Linked DNA regions of Homo sapiens: all the other regions are linked to region 3. The links are contacts of gene promoters, found by promoter capture Hi-C in human tissues and cell types (Jung and others, 2019). All regions are on one chromosome and are shown on one strand. Each heading gives the region's core, a stretch centred on a gene start or on the middle of the fragment in contact. The rest is flanking DNA. Distances are from core to core; before and after follow the strand shown.

What was found. The method cuts DNA at HindIII sites, captures the fragments that hold promoters and counts their contacts. A contact is called where the count stands out against the background at its distance.
Region 1: a fragment that was not itself captured here is called in contact with the fragment with the promoter of DDRGK1 in region 3 in 1 of the 25 tissues and cell types used here (IMR-90 fibroblasts).
Region 2: a fragment that was not itself captured here is called in contact with the fragment with the promoter of DDRGK1 in region 3 in 1 of the 25 tissues and cell types used here (mesendoderm cells).

Annotation. Positions count from the first base shown.
Region 1 is chr20:3,368,250-3,371,852 of GRCh38, reverse strand. All of the region lies in intron 6 of DNAAF9 (dynein axonemal assembly factor 9), which reads left to right. Among named protein-coding and RNA genes, the nearest start is that of DNAAF9, 38 kb to the left of the region's middle. The HindIII fragment of the contact is 4,428 bases long and covers 1-3,603 here.
Region 2 is chr20:3,338,495-3,342,393 of GRCh38, reverse strand. DNAAF9 (dynein axonemal assembly factor 9) reads left to right here. Exons shown (of 37, transcript NM_001009984.3): 10 at 1,755-1,890. Among named protein-coding and RNA genes, the nearest start is that of DNAAF9, 67 kb to the left of the region's middle. The HindIII fragment of the contact is 3,575 bases long and covers 599-3,899 here.
Region 3 is chr20:3,203,432-3,207,196 of GRCh38, reverse strand. DDRGK1 (DDRGK domain containing 1) reads left to right here and starts at 2,515. Exons shown (of 9, transcript NM_023935.3): 1 at 2,515-2,660. The coding sequence starts at 2,570. It also overlaps a transcript of ITPA not described here. RefSeq lists an enhancer at 2,604-2,823. The HindIII fragment of the contact is 17,154 bases long and covers 1-3,765 here.

The DNA of each region.
Region 1 (3,603 bases), core at 752-3,251, 170 kb before region 3:
ACATCAATCAGCTCCACAAGGGGAGGATCCTAATAGCAAACCTCTAAATAATGAGTAACCAGTGAGCATTCATTCATCTGTTTATGGACAAATAGATCTTCATATTGAAAGATAGAATAAGAATTAGGAAAAGGGTCAACAAAATGTAAGAAAGAGACCACAACATATTAGATGCAGGGATAGATCAGCATGCTTTAAAAAAAGATTTTCTGCCGGGCGCGGTGGCTCACACCTGTAATCCCAGCACTTTGGGAGGCCGAGGCGGGCGGATCACGAGGTCAGCAGATCGAGACCATCCTGGGTAACACGGTGAAACCCCGTCTCTACTAAAAATACAAAAAATTAGCCGGGCGTGGTGGCAGGCGCCTGTAGTCCCAGCTACTCGGGAGGCTGAGGCAGGAGAATGGCGGGAACCCGGGAGGCGGAGCTTGCAGTGAGCCGAGATAGCGCCACTGCACTCCAGCCTGGGCCACAGAGCGAGACTCCAGTCTCAAAAAAAAAAAAAAAAAAAAAAAAAAAGATTTTCTTCAAGGAACAAAAATAATTGAGAAAATTTCTCTTTTTGGTACTTTTTAGGAACAGAATTTATAAAAAGAGAAATGAGATCTAGCAATGAGGTGAGCAATCAAAATTAAAAAGGGAGATGGAAGACATATAAGAAAAGATTGTAGGAAGTCTCAAAATTTATTAGTAGAATGAAAACTTACATTAAAAAAAGATATAAAAAATCTAATCAGTTGACACACTTGAAAAGCTTTTCCAGAATACAGAGGAAGGGGCCAAGTAGATTAAAGCAATGGGAAGGAAGATGATGAAGTGGAGAATAGAGAATGGAAATTGGTGATATTGAAAGGAAAGAATTAAATTAAAGGTTGTTATGTAATAGTCTGTACCTCCCTCTACCGCTCTCCTCTCCCCTCAAGTGACAGTCAACCAGGCATTTGCAGATGCCACCTCCACCCTAGGAAAAACAAAGAAGAGATTTGGGTGGAGGTTTTGTAAAAAAACTGAAAAGGGCCTGGTGAGTGGCTCACACTTGTAATCAAGCCTAGCACTTTGGGAGGCCAAGGCGGGAGGATCGCGTGAAGCCAGGAGTTCAAGACCAGCCTGGCAACAAAAAAATTTTAAAAAAATTAGTCGGGCACGGCTGGGCGCGGTGGCTCAAGCCTGTAATCTGAGCACTTTAGGAGGCTGAGGCGGGTGGATCATGAGGTCAAGAGATCGGGACCGTCCTGGCCAACATGGTGAAACCCCGTCTCTACTAAAAATACAAAAATTAGCTGGGCATGGTGGCAGGCACCTGTCATCCCAGCTACTCAGGAGGCTGAGGCAGGAGAATCACTTGAACCTGGGAGGTGGAGGCTGCAGTGAGCCAAGATCATGCCACTGCACTCCAGCTGGACGACAGTGTGAGACTCCATCTCAAAAAAAAAAAAATTAGCGAGGCACAGTGGCATGTACCTACAGTCCCACCTACTTGGGAGGCTGAGGCCGGAGGATAGCTTGAGCCCTGGAGCTCCAGGCTGCAGTGGGCTGATTGAACCACTGCACTCCAGCCTGAGCAACAGAGTGAGACACTGTCTCAAAATAAATAAATAAAAATGAAATAAATAAACTGAAAGGCAAGACAAAACCAAGAGATTTCATTGGCTAGTGTAGTTTTTGCTTCCTGAGAGTAAACCTGTTCACATTTTGGCATGTAGAATATAAGGGGATGGAGACCCAGTAATAGAAGCTCTGCATAACAGTTATCAGGAATATACACCTTCCAGTTAGCCTTTTCATTGCCTCATTTCAAAGTATGAATAGGAAGCCAAAGATCACCAGACATTTGATTAAACAGCAGTAACTCAAAAGAAAAAGATCAATTTTTTTTTTTAAAAGAAGACCAGTTCATTAAGACCCAAAGATAATTTAAGGTATAGAAGAAAACTTGACATAAAACTCTTTTTGGATGCCCAGAAAAATGTAAGATTTGTCAACCATAGGACAAGTGAATGTTGTAATAACTGAATGTATGGAAAATACGAGCTCTAGGAAATCATAATTGATAAAATCAATAGAGGGGTGGAAGGTAAAGTTAGGAAACTCCTTAGAAAGGTAAAATAAAAACATCACGGAGATAGAAAATATTGATAAAAAAGTTAAAAGACTTTAACCTTTAAAGTTAACTTTAGGCCGGGCTTGGTGGCTCACACCTGTAATCCCAGCACTTTGGGAGGCTGAGGCAGGCAGATCACTTGAGGTCAGGAGTTCAAGACCAGCTCGGTCAACACAGCGAGACCCCCGTCTCTACTAAAAATAGAAAAGTAGCCGGGTGTGGTGGCACACGCCTGTAGTCCCAGCTACCTGGGAGGCTGAGGCAGGAGAATTGCTTAAACCCAGGAAGTGGGGGTTGCAGTGAGCTGAGATCGCACCACTACACTCCAGCCTGGGCGAAAGAGCGAGACTCCATCTGAAAAAAAAAAAAAAGTTAACTTTAAATGTTAGAAGACTGATCTAAGAAGTCTAATATCCAATGAGTAGAATTTCTGGAAAGAGGAGGCCACGATACCATAAGGGAAGAAATCTTTTTAAAACATAAACATTCCCAATCATAAAGAGAAATAAAAGGTTTTAAATTAAATCACTTAAGTATGAATGGGAAGAGGAAAAAAAACCCTTAAATCTGTCCGTGACATTTCAGACACTAAGGATAAAAGAATATCCTTTTTTTTTTTTTTGAGACAGAGTTTTACTCTCCTTGCCCAGGCTGGAGTGCAATGGCACGATCTTGGCTCACTGCGACCTCTGCCTCCCAGGTGCAAACGATTCTCCTGCCACAACCTCCCGAGAAGCTGGGATTACAGGCATGCTCCACCATGCCTGGCTAATTTTGTATTTTTAGAGAAATGGGGTTCACCTTGTTGGCCAGGGTGGTCCCAAACTCCTGACCTCAGGTGATCTGCCTTCTCGGCTTCTGAAAGCTGGGATTACAGGCGTGAGCCACCTGCACCCAGCCTGGATGAAAGAATATCTTTAAAAGCTTCCAGGATGGCCGGGCGCAGTGGCTCATGCCTGTAATCCCAGCACTTTGGGAGGCCGAGGCGGAGGGATCACGAGGTCAGGAGATCGAGACCATCCTGGCTAACACGGTGAAACCCTGTCTCTACTTAAAAAAAAAAATACAAAAATTAGCCGGGCTTGGTGGCGGGCACCTGTAGTCCCAGCTACTCGGGAGGCTGAGGCAGGAGAATGGCGTGAACCTGGGTGGCGGAGCTTTCAGTGAGCTGAGATCATGCCACTGCACTCCAGCCTGGGCGAAAGAGCAAGACTCTGTCTCAAAAAAAAAAAAAAAGCTTCCAGGAAGTTGGTCAGTAAGTTTGGCCAAAAAAGAAAAAAAAAGGCTTCCAGGAAGAAAAAACAAGTCACCCACCACAAAACAACAAAAACTGGTTCCCAAACCAACAAAAGCCCCCCAAAACAAAAACACAAACTAGGCATCAGGCAGTGAGGAATCCTGATTCCCTGAGAGACGGAAACAATCAATGTGAGCCCCTTGATGGTACTAGCTTATCACTTTGAGAAAGTTTCCAGACACAGCATAGAGAAGAGAGGATCCAG
Region 2 (3,899 bases), core at 1,137-3,636, 140 kb before region 3:
ACATCTTAACAAAGAAATCTGTTATTACCAACTCTGATTGGTGCCATGAAGGAGAAAAGAGCATAGTACTTTGAAGCCCATCACAGGAGAGCCCAGCCCCCTGCAGGAGAGAGCTGAATAATGAACAGAGATAAATGGGAGTAGGAGGAAGAGCAGAGACCCTGAGACAAGAACATAAGGGACATCAGAGAAAATTATCTTGGCTGGAGTATTGAAGTTGGAGTTGAGTGGCCTTCTATGGAGCTGAGAAAGTTCACCAGATCATACAAGTTCTCTTTAGCCATGTTCAAGATTGTGGCCCTTCTCCAGAAAATAACATAAAGGCAGTAAATTGGCACGTTTAAAAGATTATCACCTGGGAGGCCGAGGTGGGTGGATCACGAGGTCAGGAGATCAAGACCATCCTGGCTAACACGGTGAAACCCCATCTCCACTAAAAATACAAAAAATTAGCCAGGCGTGGTGGCGGGTGCCTGCAGTCCCAGCTACTCGGGAGGCTGAGGCAGGAGAATGGCGTGAACCTGGGAGGTGGAGCTTGCAGTGAGCCGAGATCGCGCCACTGCACTCCAGCCTGGGCGACAGAGCAAGACTCCGTCTCAAAAAAATATGTATATATATTATCATCACTGCAATGTAGAGAATCCATTATAGGAGGGCAAGAGTGGAAACAGGGAAACAGTGAGGAAGTGTTGCAGTTGTCCAGGGAAGAAATCATGGCAGCATGGACTAAGGTTGTGGCCATGAAGATGGAAGAAAATGGTTAAATAGGAAGGCTTTTGAGAAGGTTAATTAGATTTGAAGGCGGAGGAAGCAGAAGTCAAGGAGGCCTTTCAGATGGCTGGGTACCTGGGTGGATTGTGATGCCGTTTATTTCCTGCAAGAACTGGAAGGGGAGCAGACATAGGGAACATCATCACAGAGGAGAGGAGGGAGCAGCAAGCTGCAGGTAAACCCTGGGACTATTCGGAGACCAGGTGGAAGAGGAGGGTGACTGACTGGGGAGACTGAGGGGAGTGCAGTCTTGCACTGCAGTTCTTGCAGTGGAGGGTGGGAGGGAGTCAAGTGCTTCTCAGAGACCAAGGAAGGAAGGAAGACCTGAAGACTATCTGTTGGATTTGCTGTATGCTACATGGAAGTCACTTGGTGACTTTGGCAAGAACTCTCTGGGTGAAATGACTGAGGAGGCTGATTAGAGTGGGCTGAGGAGTGAGCAGAAAGTAGGGGAGAGGAAAAGTTCAGCCAAGAGGACAGGGAGGAAGGGGGTGGGTACAGAGCCAGGTATGTGTGGTATTGAGAAAATTTGCAACCCTCCTGTGCTCCTTCCCTATTGAAAGTTACTCAGGAATTGGTGACTGCCCTATTGTCTGTCTAGTCCAAGTATCATAACTGTCATCCTTTAAGACTCATATTTCTATTAAAATTCTATTTTATAATACCGGAGTTTTGCTCTATCACTGTATCATGGACAGCAAGCTTATGGAACTTATTCCTCAAAAAGTGGGACATGCTGAAAATACAAACCTAGCTTGAGTTTAGTTATGTCCCTAAATGTTAACTGATCCCTGTGGGTCAGTAGGGAGACAGCTGGCATCCGTTTCCAACCAGCCAAGGATATTCGGTCGACTGTACTGACTGACCACTTTGCTCAGGCCGCAAGTGTCCCTCAGAAAAGCCTGAGGACTTATTAAGGTCATGGAAGGTTGCCTTGGCCAGGAACTCTTTTCTAATCACATGTTTTTGACTTCCCTCTCTAGCCCTAACCGGCAGCCATTTGTTCTCTTTGGTAATCACTCCACACGAGAAAACCTGAATGCTGGCAACTTTAACTTCCCTTCTGAAGGACATCTGGTACGAAGCACTGGTCCCGGCGGGAGCTTTGCCAAGCACATGGTAAGTGGCTGGACTGCCTGGTGCTTGATTAGTTTTATTATCAAGTTGTGGGGGTGGGGTGGGTGGGGGGAGCTAGACAAAAAGAACCTTTTCCAGTTAGTGTGTTGATTTAACCCTGAATTTGAAGTTGTTCTAGAGTGAAAAGAAGTGATTAGAAACTGTTTGTACTTTTTTTATAGTACAAACTAGGTATGATTTGAAAGCATCACATTTAATTTTGAAATACTTGAAGGAAAAAGGTTAAGAACGTAGTTTCACAAACCAGTCTTTAAGTTGTCAGAGTAATATTGTCAATAGAATTTTTAAAATTCAAAATAATTTGAAGATAGTTATTCCAAGCCTAAGTTTGTTATGCCTTGACTGTTAACATTTAAGGACAGAAGCCAACCTTGATGATCATTGTTTATTGAGAGTGCCAGAGAGAAGATTTTTGCATTTGGTGGCAGATTGTCTGCTACATTCTTTTAAAGAAAACATTAGACCTGAATATGAGACTTAGATTGTGAAAGTCTATGCTATCTCAGTGGAATTTTGAGTATTTTCAAAATGTCTCTGGCAATCAGGAAAGCTGTGGTTAGTAGGTACTAGTTTTTTTGTTTGTTTGTTTATTTTTTGAGACAGGGTCTCACTCTGTCACCCAGGCTAGAGTGCAGTGGCACAGCCTTGGCTCACTGCAGCCTTGACCTCCCAGGCTCAGGTGATCCTCCCACCTCAGCCTCCTGAATAGTTGGGACCACAGGCACATGCCACTGTAGGCTTCCTGTCTTCCCTAGGAGAGGGGGAAATAGCTAAGAAACACTTTTGATGATCACAGCCTGGAGACACAGGCCTGCTAAAAGACTGAGATTTAACCGTAAAATCATAGAATGTTTCCCTCCCCCATTACCTTAGCAGAGGTCTACAATATAATAGGGGGTTACTGCTGACAGAGCTGCAAGGTACATCTAAGATGGAGTTCACAGGGAACCCAAAGAAGAAAAATGGGGAAGAAAAATAGAAGAATACTAGAGGGATTTGAAGTCCCTGGCACCTACAGCTTCAGAAAACATTAAACAGAACCTAACTCCCAGCCAGATTAACATAAAATCCCACATTAAAAGTCTGTTTCTTCAGTTCCTGTTACCTGATACATCATTTTTGGCTTTCAACAAAAAATTACAAAGCATGCTAAAAGGCAAGAAAAAACACTATTTGAAGAGACAGTGCGACTATCAGAACCAGACTCAGATATGACTCATATTTTGTAATATACAGATTATTAAAAATGACTATGATTAATGTTAAAGGCTCTAATGGAACACATAGGCAACATGTAAGAAGAGATGAATAGTGTAAACAGGGAGGTGGAAACTTGAAGATAGAATCAAAAGGAAATTCTAGGATTCAAAAGCACTGTAATAGAAGCAAAGCATACCTTTAATGGGCTTATCAGTAGAGCAGACATATCCATGGAAGGAATCAGTAAGCGTGACATTGGTCAATAGAAAATTCCCGAACAGGAGTGTGAAGAGAAGAAAACAATGAGAGAAAAAAAAAATCATCCAAGAACCAGCCGGGCACAGTGGCTCACACCTGTAATCCCAGCACTTCAGGAGGCCGAGGCAGGTGGATTGCCTGAGGTCAGGAGTTCGAGACCAGCCTGGCCAATATAGTGAAACCCCATCTCTACTAAAAATACAAAAAATTAGCTGGGTGTGGTGGCGGGCGCCTGTTATCCCAGCTACTAGGGAGGCTGAGGTGGGAGAATCGCTTGAACCCAGGAGGCGGAGGTTGCAGTGAGCTGAGATCGCACCATTGCACTCCAGCCTAGGCAACAAGAGCAAAACTCCGTCTCAGAAAAAAAAAAAAAAAAAAATCATCCAAGAACCCTGGGACAATTTCAAAAGGTATAATGTGCATGTACTGGGAATACCTGAAGAAGAAAGAGAAGGAAACGGAAGAAGTACTTGAAGTAGTCATGGCCAAGAATTTTCCAAAATTCATGACAAAGACACAAAACCACAGACCCA
Region 3 (3,765 bases), core at 1,266-3,765:
GATCACCTGAGCCTGGGAAGTCGAGGCTGCAGTGAGCCAAGAGTGCCACTGTACTCTAGCCTGGGTGATGTGAGTGAGACCCTGTCTCAAAAAACCAACAAACAAAAAGATCACAACTGACATCTATAATTACAAGTCCATAGATAACTTTCTTTTTCATTCTTTTATTTATTTATTTTTTTTGAGATGGAGTCTTGCTCTGTTGCCCAGGCTGAAGTACAGTGGTGTGGTCCCGGCTCACTGCAACCTCTGCATATTGGGTTCGAGCAGTTCTCCCACCTCAGCCTCCTGAGTAGCTGGGACTCCAGGCATGCACCACCATGCCTGGTTAATTTTTGTATCTTTCTTCTTCTTTTTTTTTTTTTTTTGAGACAGTCTCACTCTGTCGCCCAGGCTGGAGTGCAGTGGCGCGATCTCAGCTCACTGCAAGCTCCGCCTCCCGGGTCCCCACCATTCTCCTGCCTCAGCCTCCCAAGTAGCTGGGACTACAGGCGCCCACCACCACGCCTGGCTAATTTTTTTGTATTTTTAGTAGAGACGGGGTTTCACCGTGTTAGCCAGGATGGTTTTGATCTCCTGACCTCGTGATCCGCCTGCCTCAGCCTCCCGAAGTGCTGGGATTATGGGCATGAGCCACCACACCCGGCTAATTTTGTATTTTTAGTAGAGATGGGGTTTCTCCATGTTGGTCAGGCTGGTCTCAAATTCCCGACCTCAGGTGATCCACCCACCTCGACCTCCCAAAGTGTTGGTTGGGATTGTAGGCGTGAGCCACGGTGCCCAGCTTTTTTTTTTTTTTTTTTTTTTTTGAGACTGAGTCTCACTCTGTTGCCCAGGCTGGAGTGCAATAGTGTGATCTCGGCTCACTGCAACCTCTGCCTCCCGGCTTCGAGAGATTCTCCTGCCTCAGCCTCCCAAGTAGCTGGGATTACAGGCACCCACCACCACGCCAAGCTAATTTTGTATTTTTAGTAGAGACAGGGTTTCACTGTGTTTGTCAGGCTGGTCTCAAACTCCTGAGTTCAGGTGATCCACCCACCTCAGCCTCCCAAAGTGCTGGGATTACAGGTGTGAGCCACCTCGCCCAGCCCATATTTTTTCTTTTTCTTTTTCTTTCTTTCTTTCTTTTTTTTTTTTTTTTGAGACAGAGTCTTGCTCTGTCGCTCAGGCTGGTGTGCAGTGGTGCAATCTTGGCTCACTGCAACGTCCGCCCCCTGGGTTCAAGTGATTCTCCTGCCTCAGCCTCCCGAGTAGCTGGGATTACAGGCATGTGCCACCACGCCCCACTCATTGTTTGTATTTTTAGTAGAGACAGGATTTCATCACGTCAGCTAGGCTGGTTTTGAACACTTGACCTGAAGTGATCCGCCCACCTCGGCCTCCCAAAGTGCTAGGATTACAGGGGAGAGCCACCTCATCTGGCCCGTATTTTTTCAAATCCCTTTCTCACCATTGTTCATTGGTCCTGAATTTATTTTTATTTATTTTTATTTTCTGAGACAGGGTCTCACTCTATCACCCAGGCTGGAGTGCACTGGCATGATCATGGCTCACTGCAGCCTCGACCTCCCTGGGCTCAGGTGATCTTCCCACCTCATCTTCCCAAGTACCTGGAATCACAGGTGCATGCCACCACACCTGGCTAATTTTTGTATTTTGTAGAGACAGGGTTTCATCATGTTGCCCAGGCTGGTCTTGAACTCCTAGGCTCACCTCTACCTAGACTTCCCAAAGTATTGGGTTAACAGACGAGCCTCTGTGCCTGGCTCCTGAAATAAATCTTTACTTCTGTTATCATGTATACAAAAAGCTTAATAAATTCCAGTACTGCCCTCCCCTCCCCTCCCCTTCCCCTCAAAAGAAAGAAAGAAAGAAAGAAATTCAGTGTCACAGATACAGCAAAACCCCAACCCGCTTCCCTCCTCCTAGAGGTAATCGCTATCCTGAAGTTGGTGTGCATCAGTCCCAAGCCTCTTTTCGTACTTTTTCCACGGTTGTTTCCATAAACACTATGTGGGATTGTTTAGTGATTTTTAAAACATATATAGTCCGGGCGCGGTGGCTCACGCCTGTAATCCCAGCACTTTGGGAGGCCAAGGTGGGTGGATCACAAGGTCAGGAGTTCGAGACCAGCCTGGCCAACACGGTGAAACCCCCATCTCTACTAAAAATACAAAAATTAGCCGGGCGTGGTGGCGGGCGCCTGTAATCCCAGCTACTCGGGAGTCTGAGGCAGGAGAATCGCTTGAACCTGGGAGGTGGAGGTTGCAGTGAGCCGAGATCGCACCACCGCACTCCAGCCTGTGCGACAGAGACTCCGTCTCAAAAAAAAAAAACATACATAGATGTTTTCTACTGGACATACCGTCTGCTATAATTTCCTCTTAACATTGTGGGTTTCTTTACACCCCCCAAACTCATTTTAATGTCTGACATTAAAGCCTCTCTGTGATGTGCCGCTGGGCGGGGCTCCGAGTAGTGGGCGGAGTCTAGATTGGGAAATAGGGGCGGGGCCTATGAGATCCCGGCCTCAGGGTGGACGCAGTGGTTCTGCACTGAGGCCCTCGTCATGGTGGCGCCTGTGTGGTACTTGGTAGCGGCGGCTCTGCTAGTCGGCTTTATCCTCTTCCTGACTCGCAGCCGGGGCCGGGCGGCATCAGGTAGGAGATGCCGCTGCACCAGGGTTGGTGGTACCGGGTTTTCTGGCCTTCTGAGCCTTTGTGGACCGTCGCGCCGCGGCTCCTGCGCGTGCGCACCTGGGCGGGCGGGACGCATGCGCGTCCGTGCGCTAGTCGTGTGCCGGGTGGGGCTTCCGCAGTGCCCTACCTGGAATCGGTGGCCGCGCCGCTACCCCTTTCTCTCGACTCCAAGCCAGAGTCTGGCCTCATCCCTCTCTTCACCCCCGGGAACTCCATACCTCCAAAGGCCTGAGGCCCTGGCCGGCGCACACTCCCATCCGTCACCGTCGGGGCCCTTTCCCTCTGCACCTGTTAGGGAGGCCGCAGGGGTTTTCCATTCCTCCCAGCCTGGCTCCAGAGCAGGTGCCAGGAAGGGGGCATCTGAATATTTTCTGCCTGTCCCCCACGAGCTGGAGAAGCGCGAGGCGGCTCCAGGAAATTCCTGAAGCTCTCTCCCTTCCCGCCAAGGAGAGGGCCCACTCTCCCTCCCCAATCCGCTCCCCGATCAGAAGGCCATGTCATTGGCCAGGGCACAGAACAGATACACCCATCCTCCCTCTTTCCCCCCATTTCTGGTCAGCGGGCGGGTTTGTATATGTGTTTTCCTGCTCCCTGGGCCCACAAGCTACCTCTGAGCACCTGCGCGCTCCCAGGAGCGGAAGGGACACGCTGAGGGAAGGCGGAGATCCAGCAGGTCTTCCCGGGGGAGGCTCGGCCACCGCCGGGAAGTGTACTCTCTGGCTGGGGAGCCAGATAAAACCACAGGTGGTGTTAGGCGAGAAATCAGTGGATTCCTGCAGGGGGTACTCGATGAGAGCTGGGGACATCAGGATAGGGGCCTCCTGACAGGCCAGCTGGAAAGGTGGAGCCGGGAGGGGAGAGGAGTATTCACACAGGCCCGAGGGAAGGGCTGAGCCCCCGCCTGGGACCAAGCTGTGGGCCTGGTGGAAAAGGCCTTGCCAGTCAGACTGAGAAGTCGGGGCCTTGTGCTGTGGGCAGCAGGCCGCTAAGCAGAGGAGGTGAGGCTTCCGGGCTGCCGCTCCTCCTGCCATGGGCCGGGCTGGGCTTATAGGCAGCATTGTCATTT